Linked DNA regions of Homo sapiens: region 2 is linked to region 1. The links are contacts of gene promoters, found by promoter capture Hi-C in human tissues and cell types (Jung and others, 2019). All regions are on one chromosome and are shown on one strand. Each heading gives the region's core, a stretch centred on a gene start or on the middle of the fragment in contact. The rest is flanking DNA. Distances are from core to core; before and after follow the strand shown. Region 1 holds the start of EDC3 (enhancer of mRNA decapping 3). Region 2 has its middle 13 kb from the start of CSK.

Evidence for each region. Contacts are between HindIII fragments. The study calls those that stand out against the background at their distance.
Region 2: a fragment that was not itself captured here is called in contact with the fragment with the promoter of EDC3 in region 1 in 2 of the 25 tissues and cell types used here (H1 embryonic stem cells and dorsolateral prefrontal cortex).

The regions. Positions count from the first base shown.
Region 1 is chr15:74,692,935-74,698,681 of GRCh38, forward strand. EDC3 (enhancer of mRNA decapping 3) reads right to left here and starts at 3,090. Exons shown (of 7, transcript NM_025083.5): 1 at 2,946-3,090. RefSeq lists an enhancer at 3,050-3,139. The HindIII fragment of the contact is 33,216 bases long and covers 1-5,747 here.
Region 2 is chr15:74,766,286-74,772,032 of GRCh38, forward strand. No RefSeq gene overlaps it. Among named protein-coding and RNA genes, the nearest start is that of CSK, 13 kb to the right of the region's middle. RefSeq lists enhancers at 1,049-1,826, 4,991-5,706, 5,707-5,747. The HindIII fragment of the contact is 3,893 bases long and covers 1,048-4,940 here.

The sequences.
Region 1 (5,747 bases), core at 1,840-4,339:
TAAGATCTAACAGATTCCACAGTCTTTTAGACATTCTCAAGAAGAAATGTTTTAAGACTAGTGACCCAGCCTATACCTGAAAGCCTGAAATGACAAGGAGAAAAATAATCATTCATGCCAAAGCAACACCACCATATCTTCAAACTTTTGACTTCTGCCCATAAATTTACTCTTAGCACATCTAGATCTAAACCTAATATTCCAGGTACAAGCCTACCAGTGATGCAACCTTTCTCATTCTAGATTTTGCATTTTCCTGATACAATATACTAATGCAGGTCACATCGGTTCTTCTCACAGCCTTCTTAACCACACCACTGATTGGTGATTAAAACATCACATCTTTTTATTATAGAACTCCTGTGAGGTCACATCTCCACCCTCCCCTAATAGGTATAGTTGATTTTGTTTGGACCCAAGCGCAATTTCTCACATTTATACATGCTTCCTTCATTTCATTAAACAGCACTGAGCAAATTATATTGAGATCTTTTCCCATTCTGGCAATCACCAACCAAATGACTCTTTCTTTACTTCACAAAGGCACCAAATCCAATAAGCAAACCTTCTAGATAAGGTCTCAAATACATGAAGTATATAAAGAAAGTGATGAAACCCCAGTTTAGATCACCGGAATTCCAGCTGTAAGTAGTGTCCACAAATCAAACCTCTCCATACATAGATTTTCAAACTCATGACTCCATCTAACTACCACAATCTGGCAAATTCCTCCATCTCGCCCACTCAGTTATAGTAAGACTCAGTAAGACCAGGCGCGGTGGCTCACACCTGTAATCCCAGCACTTTGGGAGGCTGAGGTGAGTGGATCACCTGAGGTCGGGAGTTCGAGACCAGCCCGGCCAACATGGTGAAACCCCATCTCTACTGAAAATACAAAAATTAGCCAGGCGTGGTGGTGCATGCTTGTAGTCCCAGGTACTTGGGAGGCTGAGGCAGGAGAATCGCTTGAACCAGGAGGCAGAGGTTACAGTGAGCAGAAATTGCACCACTGCACTCCGTCCAACCTGGGCAATGGAGTGAGACTCCATCTCAAAAAAAAAAACAAAAACTTCATAAATGCCTTGCTAAAATTCTGACACACTATCATTATGGTCACTACACTCCTTTGAGCCACAATTTGGATGTCCTGTCCTGTTGTTCTGGCTGAATTTAGGAGAACTCTAGTAAGCCCTTCTCTGGATAAGAAAAGAAAAATGATACATCTTCCATTTTGTATTAATTACAGAATCTCACAAATGGCAAGGATTTTAAACATTTTCTAATGTTGTTTTTCTTAGACAGAGTCTTGCTATGTTGCCCAGGCTGGCCTTAAGCAATCCTCCCACCACTGCACTCGGCCCTAGTCTAATATTTTTCTTTTCTTTTCTTTTTTTGAGAAGTTTAGTTCTTGTTGCCCAGGCTGGAGTGCAGTAGCATATCTTGGCTCACTGCAACCTCTCCCTCCCAGGTTCAAGCGTTTCTCCTGCCTCAGCCTCCCAAATAGCTGGGATTATAGGCACCCACCACCACCCAGCTAAGTTTTGTATTTTTAGTACATACGGGGTTTCACCACGTTGCCCAGACTGGTCTCCAACTCCTGACCTCAGGTGATCCACCCGCCTCAGCATCCCAAAGTGCTGGGATTACTGGCGTGAGCCACAGTGCCCGGCCTTAATATTTTTCAAACTATACGTCATGACCTATTAGGGGTCAGACTCAATTTAGTGAGTTGCAACCAATATTTTTTTAGAGTGCATCTTCTGTAGAAAGGGTAAGTAAACTTTTCATTGGTGTGTGTGTGTGTGTACACACTGAGTGTGCAGGGGCACAATAAGTCATGATGTATAATATATCTAACTGTGGGTCACAGGTAAAAAATTTTGAGACACTTTTCTAGCCCCACAGCCCTATGCCAAGGAGGCTCTACCAAGAAATTGGTAATAAACAAAATGTCATGTTTTTACATCATACAGAGAAACTAGCTAAGAGGATTTTGTGCTCAGTACACGTAATCTGCCATTCATTAAAAAAAAAAAAAAAGATTAGGATCCATCTGGGTGTCCAGTTGAAATACTAAACTGCTTGGAGACAGCCATTTCTGTTTTGGTGGGGTGAAGACCTGTATTTGAGACAGCAGACTGAAATCGGTTTGGTCTGTGGCGAAGGAAGAGAAGAAAAACCATTCTGGGTCGCGAGTTCCTCACCTGTAACCACAGGAGAAGACTGTTGGCTTGGTCAGTTGATTTTCAACTAATCTCCCAATTGAAGAGTTAGGCGAAGCAATTGCTATTGGGAGATTAACTGAAAATTAACTGACCAAGCCAACAAGGACTATGCCTCCCACAAACCAAAACACTTTAACCACTCAGCAAGTCAAGTATTGATACATACAATCAATATCACACAAAGTGTACTGAAAAGAACCACAGACTTGCATCAAAGGCAGAAATGAATCCAGGGATAACTTCCTGGGATTCGAAGATGTGACCTGGTAGGTATAAATTTCTCAGGCATCCTCTTTTTCTACCCTCCAGTTCATCTCCGTCCTCAAGCTATCAGTCATGGATGTGGCACTGGCGTTCTTCTCTGCCACCGTATCTCATTATGCAAAGGGAAACTGAGGCACGAAGAACAGAGTGAGTGAGCCAAAGAACTGCAGCAGCCACCAACAAGGCTGGACTAAGGGCCCAAGCAGCTAATGCCTCACTCCCCACACAATCCCCATACTATTTAGAATCCTGCAGTCCTCAGCCTTCCACCTCAAACCAAACTCCTGGGGCCGCCCGTAGTACGTGGTCCCCTGCTCATCCGATGAAGCCCCCAGCTCTTGCCTGCCTGCCTGCCTCTATAAAGGTCTACGAGGCCTGGAACTCTGAAGCCTAAAGCAACCCCGGCAGCCCCCTCCCACGACCGTCCACAAACCAGTAGCCTCCCTTCGCTCCCACCTCCGCGCCGACGGGCCTGGAGCTCCTCCGCACACCACACCAAGCCGACCACTCAACACCAGAGGACCCACAGAAGAATTCTCTCCACGCCCACCCCCACAGCATCGGCCTTCACCACCGCCGCCGCTGCCGGAAGCGCCCCCACGTCTCCACGCCACCACCGTGAGGTCACTTCCGGCGCGACACCTTGGAATCCAGGGCCGTCAATTGAGGGGCGTGGCACCCGGGAAATTTAAGAGGTTGGAAGAACGTCCCTTCGGCCTTACAGAATTGCGCTTGGGTAGTCATTTTGCCCTCCACGCTTACTTATGTCCTGTGGCGTCTTGGCTGGAATCGGGGCTCTACCCACGACTCCCCAGCCTCGATGCCTGGGCCCCCCTCTTGCAGGCTCGATGAAAAGCACCCGCTTCCCCTCCTGTTACCCCAGCGCCAATCGCAGAGCTGGAGCGGAGGACTTTCAGGGAGGCCTGGTGACGTGACAGCCCCTCCGTGCTAAACTGCAGCTGTGGGACTTAATAAGTGCGACAACCCCCTGATGGATTAAAGAAAACAAGATATTCCTGCCGTGGTCGATCTTCAAAGCGTATCAGCTTCAGCCCTTTTGGGGGTTAAAATCAGCCAGTCCGTGCTTGACTGCTCTCCCTTCCCCCATACTCAGTACACAGGAAAGTGCCGCTCTTCTACCCCTGGCATTTTAGAGTCTTGATTTGTGGGGAGACGGGAAAGCATGCGTTTAGGGCCAAGACCGTGTAATGAGGAATATTGCACAGCCTTGAAGCCTGACACCTGGTTTGGGAACCACTACTTGGGCGAATAGCATAGAGTAGGGTAGCAGTTCCAAACCTAGCTCTACAAAATCAGTTGAAGAACTTTGTAAAATCTACACTTTCTAGGGGACTGCTTCACCCTTCCCCCTCCATCACCAGAGATTCCCTAGGTCAGAAGGGGTCCTTGTCTTTTAAAATTACTGTTATTAATGAACACTTATAGAGCAGTTTTTGGTTCAGGGCAAAACTGAACAGAAAGTACAGAGTTCCCATATATCCCCTGTACACACAGGCACATACACAACTTGTCCCCTCATGGACATCTTGTGCTACAGTGGTACATTTGGTAACAATTGATTACCCAACTTTGACACATCATTATCACCCAGAGTCCATAGTTTACATTAGAGTTTACTCTCGGTGTTGCACATTCTGTGGGTTTTGACATATATGTAATGACATGTATCCACCATTATGGTATCATACACGATAGTTTCACTGCCCTGAAAATCCTCTGTCCTCTGCCTATTTATCCTTCTCAGTCCCCTAACCACTGGCAACCACTGCTCCTTTTACTGTCTCCATAGTTTTGCCTTTTCCAGAATCCCATATAGTTGGAATCATACAGTATGCAGCCTTTTCACATCGGATTCTTTCACTTATGCACTTAAAGTTCTTCCATGTCTTTTCATGGCTTGATAGCTCATTTCTTTTTTGTGCTGAATAATAATATTCCATCGTCTGGATGTGCTGCGGTTTATCCATTCACCTACTGAAAGACATCTTGGTGGCCTCCAAGTTTGGGTAATTATGAATAAAGCCGCTATACATCATGTGCAGATTTTTGTGTAGACATGAGTTTTCAATTCATCTGGGTAAATACCAAGGAGTGCAACTGCTGGATTGGATGGTATATTTAGTTTTGGGAGAAACTACCAAACTGCCTTTCAAAGTGGCTGCATCATTTTGCATTCCCACAGCAGTGAATGAGGGTTTCTGTTGCTCCACATCCTTGTCAGCGTTTTGTGGTGTCAGTATTTTGCCGTTCAAGTAAGTGTGTAGTAGTATCTTATTGTTTTAATATGCAATTCCCTAATGACATATGATATTGAACATCTTTTCATATACTTACTTGCCATGTGTATATCTTCTTTGATGAAGTGTTCATTCAGGTATTTTGCCCATTTTTACATTGTGTTATTTTCTTGTTGTGATTTAAGAGTTCTGGGTATATTGTAGATAACAGTCCTCTATCAGATACGTCTTTTATAATATTTTCTCCTAGTCTGTGGCTTGTCTTCTCATTCTTCTTTTGAAGAGCAGAAGTTTTAAATTTTAATGAAGTCCAGCTTATCAATTATATTTTTCACAGATTATGCTATTGGTATTGCCCTAAAGTCATTGCCATTCCCAAGATCAGTTAGGTTTTCTCCTGTGTTGTCTTCCAGGAGTTTTATAGTGTTCCATTTTACATTTAGGTCTACAATCCATTCTGAGTTAATTTTTATGAAGGGTGCAAGGTCTTTGCCTAGATAATTTTTTTTTTTTTTTTGAGACGGAGTCTCACTCTGTTGCCCAGGCTGGAGTGCAGTGGCACGATCTCAGCTCACTGCAATGTCTGCCTCCTGGGTTCAAGTGATTCTCCTGTCTCAGCCTCCCAAGTAGCTGGGATTACAGGCACCCGCCACCACACCTGGCTAGTTTTTGTATTTTTAGTAGAGGCAAGGTTTCACCATGTTGGCCAGGCTGGTCTCGAACTCCTGATCTCAATTGATCTGCCCACCTCGGCCTCTCAAAGTGCTGAGATTACAGGCGTGAGCCACCGTACCCGGCCTGATACATTTTTATGTGTGTGAAAATTCAGTTGTTCCAACATAATTTGTTGAAAAACCTATCTTTGCTCCATTATATTGCTTTAACTCCTCTGTCAAAGATCAGTTGACTACGTTTATGTGGGTCTACTTCTGGATTGTTTATTCTTTCACCAATACCACATTGTCATTATTACTGTAGTTTATAGTAAGTCTTGAAGTTG
Region 2 (5,747 bases), core at 1,744-4,243, 73 kb after region 1:
CCAGCTACTCGGGAGGCTGAGGTGGGAGGATTGCTTGAGCCTGGGAGGTAGAGGTTGCAGTGAGTTGAGATGGCTCCACTGCACTCCAGCCTGGGCAACAGAACGAGAGCCCATTAAAAAAAAAAAAAAAAGGTTGGCTGGGCACAGTGGCTCACACCTGTAATCTCAGCACTTTGGGGGGCTGAGGCAGGAGGATCATCTGAGGTCAAGAGTTCAAGACCAGCCTGGCCAACATGGTGAAACTCTGTCTCTATTAAAACTACAAAAATTAGCTGGGCATTGGGAGGCAGAGGTTGCAGTAAGCCCAGATCATGCCACTGCGCTCCAGCCTGGGCAACAGAGCGAGACTCCATCTCAAAAAAAAAAAAAATAGCCAGGTATGCCGGGCGCGGTGGCTCACGCCTGTAATCCCAGCACTTTGGGAGGCTGAGGCGGGTGGATCACCTGAGGTCAGGAGTTCGAGACCAGCCTCAACATGGAGAAACCCCGTCTCTACTAAAAGCACAAAATTAGCCAGACATAGTGGTGAATGCCTGTAATCTCAGCTACTCGGGAGGCTGAGGCAGGAGAATTGTTTGAACCCAGGAGGCGGAGGCTGCAGTGAGCCAAGATTGTGCCATTGCACTCCAGCCCAGGCGAAGGAGCGAGACTCCATCTGAAAAAAGAAAAGAAAAGAAAAGAGGAGGGTGGGCGCGGTGGGTCACGCCTGTAATCCCAGCACTTTGGGAGGCTGAGGCGGGCGGATCACAAGGTCAGGAGTTCGAGACCAGCCTGGCCAATATGGTGAAACTCTGTCTCTACTAAAAATACAAAAATTATCCGGGAGTGGTGGCGGATGCCTGTAGTCCCAGCTACTCGGGAAGCTGAGACAGGAGAATCGCTTGAACCCGGGAGGCGGAGGTTATAGTGAGCCAAGATCGAGATCGGACCACTGCACTCCAGCCTGGGAGATAGAGCGATACTTTGCTTCAAAAAATAAAAAATCAAAAAAAAAAAAAAGAGGAAAAAGAGTTCTAGGCAGAGGGACCAACCTGTGCAAAGGTCCTGAGGCAGGAAAGGGGTTACTGTGTGCTTGAAGGCAAATTATCACCCCTCTTAGGAAAGGCATAGCCTCACCTGTGAAATAACCCAAATTTAGAGATGGAGAGACAGAGGTTCAGAGAGGGAAGATGGCTTCTTCAGGAAAGCAGAAGAGCCAGAACTGAAACCTAGATCTTTTTGGCTCTATGAACTCAGAGGTATTTCAGGTATGCATTTGGGGACCTTTTGCAAGATTGTAAAGACCAGGACGGGAAGGAAAGGGCCACCCTCCGGGGGCTTTTCTTTTCCTGGGAAGAAGGTCTTCTTTCCAGGAAGGTGGTGTACGGGCAAGGCTGAAAACCCAGCCTTCATTCTGCCAGGCCAGTCCCCTCCTAGTCCCTGCTGCCCCAGGGCTGCAGAATCCTATCCTGGCTCCTGCCAGGCTCCCCTGCAGCTGGGCAAACAGGCAGTGGGTGGGACTCGGTATAATTTCCTCCTTGCCCGCCTGGGGTCTGCTAGGCTCTGGCTGAGCTCTCTGGCCTCTGCCCTGCACCCCCAACTTGGAGCCCAAAGGGGGTCATGGGTCTTTCTGCCCTGTGTCCCCAGGGATGCACCCGATGAGTTTGAGAAGGGGCTGCCTTCTCACCCAGAGAGAGGTGAGGCCATCCCCTCACCCAGAGAGGGGCTCCAGGCCCCACTCCAAGGGAGAGTCAGAACTTCCCGGTGCCTACAGGCGCACTGTGCTAAACCAGTGTGAGCATCCTGCGCTGATAATGCTACATGCATAAGCTGCGGATGCACAGGGGCTCAGACTCAGGGGACTGTGGGGAGTCCTGGCAGCCACATATACATCGGGCTCACCCCTGTAGCACCCCATCTAGAAAAGCCCATCCAGAGCCAGAAGGGGCTTCTGGGGATGGTTCCTGGAAGGGCTGGGTTCTGCTGTTCTCTGAGTGACCAATCCACCCATTCTTTCCAGAAATGGTCCTATCCCATCTCCTTCCCCTCCAGCCGCTCTCGGTTCCCTGCCCTCATCCACCCAGGATGTCACTGGGCCTGCTGCGAGTGGCTGCCCGGGGAAAAGGCCAGGAGCTCTGCAATGAGCCTGTAATCCCAGCACTTTGGGAGGCTGAAGTGGGTAGATACGCACTACACACAAGCCAGCACCAGGTTCCTCCCACCCAGGGGATGACAGAGGAGCTCCAGCTCACCACCGTGCCTCAAGTCCCCTGCTTAACTGTCCTATGTGAGCTCAGGGCCGCCCTCTGGGGGCTTTTCTTTTATTTATTTATTTATTTATTTATTTATTTATTTATTTATACTTTAAGTTTTAGGGTACATGTGCACAATGTGCGGGGCTCCCTTCCTCCCAGCAGCCATGCTGTCACGTGCTCCTTGCCCCGGAGAGGCAGGAATCTGTCCCGAAATGTCGAGCTGAAACGCTTCCTGGACGCTTGCTACAACCGTGGTCTTCAAATTCTACTAAATTTTTCCAGTGGCAGGATTCACTGTTGAAAGGAAAGCTTCCCACCTTGCCTGTTCCTCCTAACCCCAAAAAAGTCGGGCTTGTGATCTATGGGGAGAAGAATAGCCCCCGCCCCACACCCATCTGATGCCCAATTCTTCCCAATCCATCAGCCCCCAGCCCTGTCCTCATGTCAGGATCTGCCCGCGTCACTCTCCCCAGCCAAGAACTGGAGCCGAAAATGCAGTGTAGGCTGCCCCCTCGTGGGCAGTTAGAGAAACACATGTTTCTCATAGCTGCTAGCCTTTACCCACTGTCTTGGGGACCCCACCCCAAATAAAAAGGCAACCTAAGGAATAAGCGACTTTGTTTTGCAAATACAACTTCAAGACAAGTCTCAAGTCAGTCCTATGCAGAAATTCTAGAGAAGCCACTAAGAGTGGCCAGAGGACAGCCCCCCACTTCCTCTCATTCCCCAGCCTGGTCCTCATAGACCCACCTGGAGTAGAAATTCCTCGTGCAGGCCAGGCGTGCTGGCTCACACCTATAATCCCAGCACTTTGGGAGGCTGAGGCGAGCTGATCACATGAGGTCAGGAGTTCGAGGCCAGCCTGGCCAACAGGGTAAAACCCCGTCTCTACTAAAACTACAAAAAAAAAAAAAAAAAATAGCCAGGTATGGTGGCAGGCACCTTTAATCCCAGCTACTCAGTAGGCTGAGGCAGGAGAATCGCTTGAACCCAGGAGGCAGAGGTTGCAGTGAGCCAAGATCACGCCACTACACTCCAGGCAGGGTGACAGAGCAAGACTCCATCTCAAAAAAACAAAACAAAACAAAAAAAACACCAATTCCTCATCTAACTCCCTGCCAGGAGTTCAACTTCTGTTCTCATACTTTTAAGAACAGAGAGCTCACTACCCTCAAGGCTGATTCATTATATTTTCTGTGCTGGGGCACTGGGAACACTGATGGTGCAGATCCATTTGTAACCTCCTGGGACTCTCACATTGCTCACTTAGCTGGAGCAACAGGTGAGAAAACGAGGGTTGCAGGTGTGCCAAAGGCACAGGGATGAGAGCGGCCAGTTCTTCACGGACCTACACCTCCACCTGCCTCTTCTCAGGGATCTTATATTCAAAGGGATTAAATTCCAGGATCTTGGAGATGGCTGCAGTCCAGCTGCCCCCTTGCTTCTGCTTTCACTTGAGAATCAGCCGAAGTTCCCCGAGCACCTGCTCCATGCCAGGTCCCTCCTGGCACTTTGTCCCACTTAGTCCTTAAAGCTCGCTGTGATAGCGATGTGCTAATGCCCACTGGGCAGATGGGGACAGAGGCGCAGGAGGTCACTTGCCCAGGATGACACCTCTAGTCATTTGCGGAGTTGGATCTGGCCTCAAGCTTGCTGGTGGCTCTTGGAGCCCATGCAGAAGTGACTGGGGCAACACATGACACTCCAACTTGGCATTCCCCTCAAAGGGCCTGGACCAAGCCAAAAGCTGCGGAGAAGGCTCAGGGCAGACTGTGAAGTCAGGAGTTTGACCCCAGCCTGCTATGTCATGCTCCTCCTTCCTGGCCCTGCCTCCACCTGTGCCCTATCTCTGCCTCCCACCTCAAGGTCCAGGACTGTTGCAACCAGACCCTCCTACCCCAACCATGTCCAGCAGGAGATGGTCCCTGCACCAGAAGCTTCTGAAGGTCTACATGGAGGGCTGGCAGGCAGAAGGCAAACATCTCCCCCAACTTGCAGCCCTTCACTGCCGAGCAAACCTAGGACCTGGGGCCTGGGGTCTCTGCAGCTGCCATCTGGTGACCTCCTCATGGGGCAGGAAAAAGAGTTCAGGCTCTGGGGTGGTTCTGTAAATCACCCTCTGTGGGTCTCCCTTGCCCTACAGTTAAGATCTAGATGCTACTGTTTTCCTTGAAGGAAGATGATCAAATGAGAGCAAATGTGCAAACACCCAGCACACAGTAGGTGTTCAACAAAGTGTGCCTTCCTACCTGTCCTCACTTTGCTCTTATTACTCAGGAAAATCTGAGGATGTCAGCAACACTGAGGCCAATCCAGGATCCCCAGGGGCCAGCGTGGTGGTGGCCTTCAAATCAGGGAGCAGCCCACGGTAGGGGGCCCTGTGGGGTCCCAGCAGCCATATGCTGATCTGGCTCACCCACCCCCCAGCACCTCCTCTAGAAAAGTTATTCCACAGCCAAATGGGGCCCCTTCCAGCTCCCTGCCCTCATCCACCCAGGACCTGCCCTGTGATGCTCGCAATCGGGAACAGTCAGCTCTGGCTCCAGCCCTAGGTAAGCCTGGGACATGGTCCTCCCAGGAGCCAAACGGCTCATCTTTCCCAGAGCAGACATGCGCCTGCTCTCCAGGCGTGCCTCTGAGCCTGCCCGACAGGGCAGTGTGACCTTGCCTGCCTCTCTGTCGCTCTCTCATTCCTTCCCCTTGAGCTCTGTGTTGTGGCCACCAGGAGGCGCTGTTCCCCCTCAGACCCGAGTAGACCAACAGCCCAGCGCCACCAGAGACCAGACTGGATTCTAGATTTTCTCTTTTTTTTTGAGATGGAGTCTCGCTCTGTCGCCCAGGCTGGAGTGCAGTGGCATAATCTCCGCTCACTGCAACCTCCACCTCCTGGGTTCAAGCGATTTTCCTGCCTCAGTCTCTGAGTAGCTGGGACTACAGGCGTGCACTATCACGCCTGGCTAATTTTTTGTATTTTTAGTAGAGACAGGGTTTCACCACGTTGGCCAGGCTGGTCTTAAACTCCTGAGCTCAAGTGATCCGCCCACCTCGGCCTCCCAAAGTGCTGGGATTACAGGCGTGAGCCACCAAGCCAGGCCTGAATTCTAGATTCTGAAAGAGGCAGGAGGCGAGTAATCACCCAGAGTGCAAGGGAAGACAATGGCCTTTGTCTAATTGCTGTGAATCTGGCACTTCAAACGCAAGACCTGACCTCATCTTCCCACCCGCCATGATGGGGGTGGGGTCAGGGGGCACCAGTCAGGCTTCTAAGTCACAAACAACAGAGACTGACCTCCAGCTAACATTAGCAGAAAATAAATGCCCCGCTCACAAAGACAGAGAACCAAGCTGGGAATAGGGCAGTCACCCAGGGAAAGTAAGGGCTCCAGTGCGGCTGGAACAGGGCACTGCCAGCAAACATCATCTCCCTGGGCCCCAGTCACACATCCTGGCCCTAGCCGGCCTGACTCATCCCAAGCTTTGGTCCTGTCTCCCCAACATCTATCCTCACTCATT